2 separate regions of the Homo sapiens genome follow, and region 2 is linked to region 1. Evidence: promoter capture Hi-C in human tissues and cell types (Jung and others, 2019). All regions are on one chromosome and are shown on one strand. Each heading gives the region's core, a stretch centred on a gene start or on the middle of the fragment in contact. The rest is flanking DNA. Distances are from core to core; before and after follow the strand shown.

Region 1 (4,395 bases), core at 1,234-3,733:
TGGCAGCCTCCTAGCTCCTAGCAGGGATGAGTGTGAACCTCCCCTCCAGCGCCCCACTGAGTCTATGCATTCCAAACCTGTCCTTTGTAGGACAGGCTCCAGCCATCAGTACTGTCGTTTGAGGTACAGACAAAGAGTTAAGAGTAATTACTTGACAGATGACAGCAGAAACAACAGATGCTGAGTGAATCTAAAAGGAAAACTGCAGGGAGGGGTTGAGGGTGTCAAGGATGGAACATTGAGGACATCCAGAGGGGAATAAAAGAAGCCCCACTCTTAAGAAACATCACAGTGTTGGCCAGGCGCAGTGGCTCACGCCTGTAATTCCAGCACTTTGGGGGATTGAGGCGGGTGGGTCACTTGAGGTCAGGAGTTCGATACCAGCCTGGCCAACATGGTGAAACCCATCTCTATTAAAAATACAAAAATTAGCCCAGCGTGGTGGTGCACGCCTGTAATCCCAGCTACTCGGTAGGCTGAGCCAGAAGAATCGCTTGAACCCGGGAGACGGAAGTGGCAGTGAGCCAAGATCAAGCCACTGTACTCCAGCCTGGGCGACACAGCAAGACTCCGGCTCAAATAAAAAAAAGAAAAAGAAAAGAAAAGAAAAGAAAAAGAAAAGAAAGAAACATCACATTGTAACTCAAATATGTCCCCCGCCTTGAGCAGCCTTTCTTGACTCCCCAGGCAGAGCTGAAGGCCTCAATTACAGGATTGGAAATCACCGGATGCCTGTGCTAAGAGCCTCCCCCACGAGAATCTGAACTCGTTTTGTGCCTCCAGCACCAGATGCCTACCTGGTAAGCCCTTGGCAAAACTGTGCTGAATGTTTAACATGGTATCACGGACAGTGAATTAGGAACTTGGAGAGGAAGTGGCTGCTTTCTTCTGGAAGATCTAATCAAGACTTTACACAGGAGGTGAGGTTTGCGAGATAGAAAAAGGTATTTCAGTTTATCCAGGAAGTTAGCACGATGGCCCAGCAAGGAACAGCAGTGGTGTGGAAAAACGGAGGGCGAGGCCCGAAGGAAGCGAGGAAGTGAAGCCCGGCAGGAGTGCTGGGTTGTGGTGCTGAAAAGTAGGCTAGCACTGGGCAGCCGAAGACAGCAGCGAGGCAAAGGAAGAGTTGTTCCCTCCCCTCCAGGACCGGTGATGGGAAGCGGGGTGGAGGTTGGGGTGGATGTCTAAAAGAAACGAGGAACAGCCGGGCAACGGAAAGTAGTTGCTTTGGAGAACGTGGTTGAGGCTGGAAGCAGGAGTTGATGGGTAAAAGGATGAGGAGAGCTCATACCTGTAGTTCTTTTCATTTCCATGTACGACGCAAATTACCGAGCTCCAAAAAGGAGATGAGCCCAAAACCTTAACAATCAGAGGCTAAAAATGGACTAATCAGTGAGGTGTAAGCCAAGAAGTTAATGAGGTAGGAGGCACAACACGGTCGAGAGTTATAAGACAAACCCAGGTTATTACTTGGGTCCTCGAGGATCCAATTAACTTCTCATTAAGTGGGGCTGGGTGCTCGGCTTCTCAACTGGCGCCAGCCTCCCAGCCCCCAGCCAACGCCTGGAATGAGACTCCAGGGAAATTCGGCCAGCTGGTGGATCTTCAGCGAGATGAAGGCAGTGGCGTGGACAGGCCATTCACGGCGATACCCACCCAACTCTGTCCAGGCCTTAAGCAGAAGGCTGGGAGCAGCACAGCACATCAATGGCAGCCACAACGCCTTCCTTTCCCTTTCCCTTTCCCTGCCTATCACGCAAACACTCCCCTACTAAAGTGTATCCTCCGTGAGAACAGGGCTCCGTCCTTCTTCACGGGATGCGCGGAGCCTAGAAGGGCGCCCGGCCACGGCGACCCCCAAGTACTGGCTGAATAGTGAATGAACTCCGCTTGGCCGCACTTCAGTCTATCTGGGCACTGAAAGATGCGACCCGTGGAGCCGCCTAAGAGAGCACAGGGGGAAGAGAAGAAGCGGAAGCCTCCGGAGGTCCCATCGAGGCGGCCTGCGGGACCTGAGCGCCGGGCTCCGTAGCGCGGTCGGGAGGGGGCTTCTGGTCCCAGGCCCAAGACCGACCGCTTTGCAACTGACCTTCCGGCGGGGGCGCCCGCGCGGGGCACAGCAGCCAGGCTCCGGCGTCCCGCTCCCGCCGCCCCCCGGCGGCGCCCGGCGACCGCTGCGCACGTAGGTCACCTGCCTCCTGCTGGCGCCGCGCGGCTGGCCCGGCGCGGGCGGCAGGTGCGGCCCAGGTGGCCGCCAGGCCGGGCCCGGCGGGGCGCTGCGGGTGGGGGACCCGGGCCCGGCGCGCCGCAGCTCTGCGCAGAGCCGCAGGCCGAACAACAGCACAGCCCCGAGTAGACACCGGCGCAGGACGCCGCAGCCCCTCCCGGGCGGCCTCTCCCGGGCCATGGCGCTACACTCGGGGTCCCGCGGGCCGCGCCTGGCCGGCAGCAGGGATGTAGCCCCACAGGCCGGAGCGGCCAACTGTGGGAACTCCCCCGCGGGCCGGGGTGCGGGCTCGGACCCGCCTCCCTCCCTCCCGACCGAGGAAGCCCCGGCGTAACCTTATCCTGCCCTGCCGAGCGCGCCCCGCCGCTGGAACGGTGGTGGGCCGAACGCGGTCACAGGGGGCCCTCTCCGCCCCTCCGGAGGTGCCAGGGCCCGGCTGTACAGGGTCCCTCAAGAGGTGCCCTCCGCCCCGGCCTCCAAAGCCTGACGGAGCTGAAAGACATAGGGCCAGAAAAAGCGCATTCCTAACGGGATCCCGGGCCATAACTTCATTTTCTGGTATTAGTGTTGTTGGAGAAACACAGGAGGAGGGTAGGTGAGCATACAAGGAACAGTCAAGCAGTTTGCACCATTAAGCACAATATAAAAATAAATAGCACTTATGCCCGGGCTTACAACTTCTCTCTCTCTCTCAAGAAAGAAAGGGATTGGGGGGCGAAGAGAATAGCACTCAATGCAGAATAATCAAATTAGAGTTATTCTATGTCTAAATTCTGCCTGAAGCCAATTCGTGCTTTCTTTCCGTGTTATGAAATGTGTGGGGGTGAAGAAGAAGAGGGAAAAAGCCAGCTAAGACATCTGACAGCGGGTTGGTGAGGAGGGGGGAGAGAGAACAGAAGTTACCATGGCATGATGTAAATCAAATTAATTTAGCTCCAAACACACACCTCCCTGCTGTCTCGCAGAAATACAGAGGGACAAATTTATCTTTCGGCAAAATGCTCCCCAGCTGGTATTTCCATCACCACCTTGACCTTAATTAATCAGACTGAACTCTCACAGCCTGAAGTCCAGTGGTGGATGTTCCATTTTCAATTGTTAGTAGAATCCTTTCCCACAACCCATTTGGGGTGGGTTTGGGTTTTAGGTTTGAGTTTGGGTTTAGATTTTTTTAAGCTGTAGTCACTTTTCTTTTTTTCCTTGCTTTACTCTTGCATTTTCCATGCTTCCATGGGAGACTGCGCCTGTAGACCTATCCTCTTCCCCCGTAACAGCCTACAGCATGGACAAGAGAGAACAAATATGGGGCCCTACCCCCCTGCCCTTTTGAATGTTGGGTATTTTCCGTAGGAAGCCCTCGTCTCTAAAATCCTCTTCTCTTCCTGGCTTAAGAAAGACCCAATTTATTCCCTGCTAGTGAACAAAGCACTTGGGCTGTTTCTCTACATGTAACAAAATATCTCCACCCAGTCTAGTCCACCCCCTGGCCACACCAGATCCTCAGGCTCCTGAACGTTCCATTAGGATTGACTTTTGCTTTTTTCTTAGATGAGTCCAGGGGATATTGCAGATGGGTTCTATTTTAACAAATTTAAACAAGTACGAGTTTTTCCTTACACAAACTGAGAGCCAGCCTCACATCCTGTGACTATTTACTTGAACTGTGTTTGAACCAGGACCCTGCCGTTCAAGCACTATGAGACTTTCAACGAAGTACTGGACCTCTCTGAGTTTCCGTTTTCCCATGAATAAACAGATCTATATATATGGCAGGATTATAAATGTTGCATAAAATATTATATGTTTCATGCCCAAATAATACTGGCTCACAGAAGGGTCTCAATAGTAATTATTTTGTTATTTACCATGGAAGAAAATCCTGGATGTTGTCATGAAAAACAAAAGGTAAGCATTGATTCCAAAGTGGGCAAAGATAAAGTATAAGGAAATTTACAAATAATTTATACAGCATTCTCTGGAATTCAGAGTACCCAATAATTTCAAGAAAATAACAATTAATCATCAAGAAACGAACTCTGTTAAGTTGTATAAGGCTCTTTAAGACAGAGTTTGTAGGGTGCTTGATAAACCTGGATTGGTAATGTCTGATGTAGACTTTGCTGGAAGTTTTATTTTCTATGCAGTCAACACAGTGCCGCTAACTAGAG
Region 2 (4,404 bases), core at 1,414-3,913, 60 kb before region 1:
AAAAATAATAGCTATAATTCCTCATTAACTAGCTCGGATCATTGAGGATACTCTGAATGTAACAAAGTCTAAAGTAAGAAAGACTTTAGAAAAAAACTATACATTATGATTAATATGAGCAGAAACTTCAGATTCAATATTTCTAGTTGCATTCTGAAAAAACTGTATGCTTAGTTAACAATAACCACTTCTGCAAAGAGTAGACAGTTAATCATTTCACATAATGCTGGATCCAAGTGATATTACTCCCTGACAGACTGGGCTTCTAATCCACATGGTTTTGCTGATGCAGCTGCTCTAGCCTGATGCTTTAGAACAGGCTTTTGATTTATAGTTTGAGGTTAAAATTACCAAAGAGTTTTAAAAGCAGTACAAAAGCCATTTGCATCTTTCTGTCACTATCTCAGAATACTGCTTTCATTTTTGCCCATATTTTTTCTTGAGTGGCTGGAATCTACGTATGGATATACAGAATAGGAAAACTAACAGCGGAATAGGGAAATTACTACAAAACTATATGAGATATTTTAAAGTTCTGAAATAAAACAGCTAAAAACGCTTTGGTTTCTACACTCACTTTCAGAATAAATGAGTGAAGGTGTGAAGGCAGAAACGCTGACATTTGTTAGCGTGTTTTTTACTATTTGCTTCCCCTGCCGCAGCCACATCCTATTTACCACTGTCTGTACATACAGAAAAATGAAAACAGATCGTGCTTGCTACACGACACAAACAAGGTTTCCATTTATCTAGCCCCGCATAGCTCCTAGAAGCATTTTCCTAAGGAAAGCAATCACTCGCTGACGGGTTTAGTTTTGTTGTTTTTGTTTTAAAGCATTCACCAAAAAAAAATCTCTATGGAAGAATATCAATATCTTTTAAATTCTTCAACAAGGAATTAAAACAAAAAAGGAGCAAATGCATTCCTGGCAATTCTGTGCCAGATCACTTTCATTGTAAATATTTTTTTAAAAAATAAGTAACCTTAGAAACATAAGCATTTCTCCTTTCTAGGCATCATTGTAAATATTTCTGCTATCTCAGGAGCAGCATTGCAAAAGGTCTCATGCTTTATCCTTAGCATAAAAGTTGGCCCACTGCAGCTCCCATGGAGCTAAACAAACACAATTCAGGTACATACCTTGTTATCTAAAATTAGATAAATTATATCCGCAGATCACTTTTTCAAAGTCTTATTTTATCCTCACCTTTACCAAATCTTTTGCTACAGTATTATTGGGGAAAAAAATAAGCAAAATGGCATTGAGTTTCTCTTTTTCTCCTACTCAGTCTTTTCTTTGAAGAGTGGTGCTGGAGAGGGCTAGGATGTAAAGAGCATAAAGCAGGAACAGCAAGACTCCTAACTGAACACAAAGAATAAGTAGTTAACTCTTTGAATAATCTAAAGTTGACATATTAGAGAATTAGGCCTGTAATTCTCAGCTGTAAAAAACAGATCTACAAAGGTAACGAGTGGCAAAAAAGAAAAAAACAAAACCCTAAATAAAGTTCTGAAAAATGCTTCTGCTTCTTCCCACACATATGAAAAACATTAACAGCATGTAAAAAGGAGTTCTCTTCTGAGATTTTACCCAAAAATCCTATATGTGTCTCACTAAGGCTCCTGACTATTAAATGCCACCAGTTACCCTTGGTGGCAAAGCAAAATACAAATTAATAGTTAATTGCGTGTTAAAAGAACAGCAAATTCTTTGAAGTTGTTCTTGAAGAAGCATGGGCTATCTAAAGGTTGTTTAAAGGATGAAGAGGAGGAGGAGGAAGAAGAAGAGGGGGAGGAGGGACAAGGAAGAGGAAGATGAAGAAAGGAGGCAGAGAAAAGGGAGGAAGAGGGGAGGAGGAGGAGGAACGGCAATGCAGGGAAAAGCTTCTTACTGAAAATCAAGAAGCCAACTCAAGTTTAAAATTGAGTCTCAGGCACACTGTTTCTCAAACAGAAACACCCATTCTGACCTGTTCTAAATCACATGGCATCTCTGGCTGGGAACACAGGCCAAAATAGCCAAACCCAAGAAAGGCTGAAGATCAAACACAAGCCAACTGCACTCAGGAGAAATTCTCTAGTATCTGCCTACAGAATACAGTTAGCTCGGGTATACTACACTAAAAATTGCTTTCAAAGAACACAGTTCAAAGATTGTTTCTTTTTTGCTGTCCATTCATAATAAAATGTTTGCAGAGATTTGACATCCTTTGGTATAATTATATAATTTGTAATGTACATGTCCATTCAATTTTATAAAGTAAATCTTAATCAAAGCTATATATATTTTCTGTGTAGAGCCTAGACGTTCAAAATAGTGAGAAACATGTCACAACAGTGAGAAACATGATACACAAGCAATATCTTAGTAAACATAACCCCGATTTTTTTTTTTGTATTTGAGGTCAACATAAGTAGTTTGCTCTTTCTGGAAAGTGTAAGTCAGTTGCCAAATGAAAATGGTATTCTTCAGCCTGTGCCAGAAGTAAGTTTCTTAGTCTTCTTGCCTAGTCTTGGACAAGACCATTAACATTACTCAACAGCAACTAAAATCTTCACATCAACTTAAATATCTCTATCCTTGCCAACACTTTATGTCTAGAGTTGACTCTATAAATAATGTTGGGTGATTAGTAAGATTAAAATCGGACCTTCAGCTATCCAATGTCAATGTTGCTATTCTTGGTTTGCATTTTAAAAAGCTGATGGGTTTGTTTACTTTATTCAAGTATAAAATCAAATGAAAAACCTCACCTTGTGATGTCCAAATTCATTCAAAATGCTTCCCAGTTTTCTGGTGTTGCTATGTGGTTTTTGGGCAGCAACAGCTGGATGGGGATCCCGCCAGTCAATGGACAAGCGGTGATACCAAAGGTGCTGACTCTCCAGAATGTGAGCTGACTTGACACTAGGATCAAAACGATGCACTTCACATCCGTTGTTGGCCATGCTAACCTCAAAATGGGTATCATCACTTCCTAGCCTATAAAGAAAGAGGACGGAAATCAACAACAAAAAATGCAATGAAGCAAAGTGTTGGACTAACAAGATGACAGTTCCAAGGCCAAGGTTCTTAGTTATATCAAGCCTTCTCCTGTTTTAACCCATGGCTAATGTACACATTCAATAAACTTTCTTTCACAAAAAAGCATTATTGCTCAAAGCTTCTGGATAAAAGATAAATTATCTGCTAGACAAAGACCAGAGAATCACATACTCAAACATGTAGGCGCATCATCAAATTGTTTTTTTTTTAAGTGATGTAAATCACAGTAGCAATGAAACAAAGAAGACTATCCAGTAGTCTTAGATTTTCTTAGAATATGTCCACAAATATAAGCCCCAGGATTAGTTCTCTTGAGGAGAGATGTGTTCTACTAATGAGGTAATTTGTCTCCATTCTAATGGCCACAGTGTTGTGTATGCAATTTGACTTAAAGACAACAGCTGTTTTCTTAGAAATGTAATATATTTTTAAATAGTGCAAATAAGAAAAAAGGCAAATGTATGTGATTCTACTGCATCCAAAACTCAAGAAGCAGACGGTTTCCTCACCTAAATTCACATCAAAAGGGGAAGAAATTATGAATTAATTGTACTTAAGTACTCAATAGGTAGCACACCATACGGAAAATAATAAACTTCCAAATATTGAATTGACTCAGAAATATTCCCTATTTAATGGTGCAAGGATCGTCACTTTGATTAAAACACCAGTTTTAATGAAAAGCATGAAATTAACTGAGAATGATTTTTTTAATGGTGATTATGGCTTTTCTGCCCCAATACTGTACTCATATGTGATTTAGGATACCAAAATCCCACAGAGTAGCTACACTACTTGGCCGAACCTAAACCCAGTGCAGAAATACTTCATTCTCATAGATTCTACAAGTATTTTGTAAGTGGATGTTTTTCAATAAATACAGTGAGCCCTCCATAGCTGTGGGTTCCACGTCCACAAATTCAACCAACATGGATCAGAAATACAGCATTGATAGGATGCAGGAGCCTACTGATATGAAGGGCGAATGTTTTGTATCTGTGAGTTCCACACCCAGACTTGATAGTTCGTGGATTTTGGTATCCGTTGGTGGGGAGAGGGTGGCCTAGAACCAACCGCCAACCCCATACGGAGGGATGACTGACTATTGCATAATCTGGAAATACACAAGTTCAGTGGATAATAATTATTTACCTTATTTTAATTAACTAAAATAAGCCTTCAGTTCAGAGATCATCCACCGAGACATGCTTTTTTTTTTTTTTTTTAGATGGAGTCTGGCTCCATCACCCAGGCCGGAGCATAGTGGCGTGATCTCAGCTCACTGCAACCTCTGCCGCCAGGGTTCAAGCAATTCTCTTGCCTCAGCCTCCCAAGTAGCTGGGATTACAGGTGTGCC

The links. The method cuts DNA at HindIII sites, captures the fragments that hold promoters and counts their contacts. A contact is called where the count stands out against the background at its distance.
Region 2: a fragment that was not itself captured here is called in contact with the fragment with the promoter of METTL24 in region 1 in 1 of the 25 tissues and cell types used here (dorsolateral prefrontal cortex).

The regions. Positions count from the first base shown.
Region 1 is chr6:110,355,866-110,360,260 of GRCh38, forward strand. METTL24 (methyltransferase like 24) reads right to left here and starts at 2,484. Exons shown (of 5, transcript NM_001123364.3): 1 at 2,090-2,484. The coding sequence starts at 2,407. The HindIII fragment of the contact is 11,777 bases long and covers 1-4,395 here.
Region 2 is chr6:110,296,167-110,300,570 of GRCh38, forward strand. METTL24 (methyltransferase like 24) reads right to left here. Exons shown (of 5, transcript NM_001123364.3): 4 at 2,756-2,984. Among named protein-coding and RNA genes, the nearest start is that of METTL24, 60 kb to the right of the region's middle. The HindIII fragment of the contact is 5,139 bases long and covers 95-4,404 here.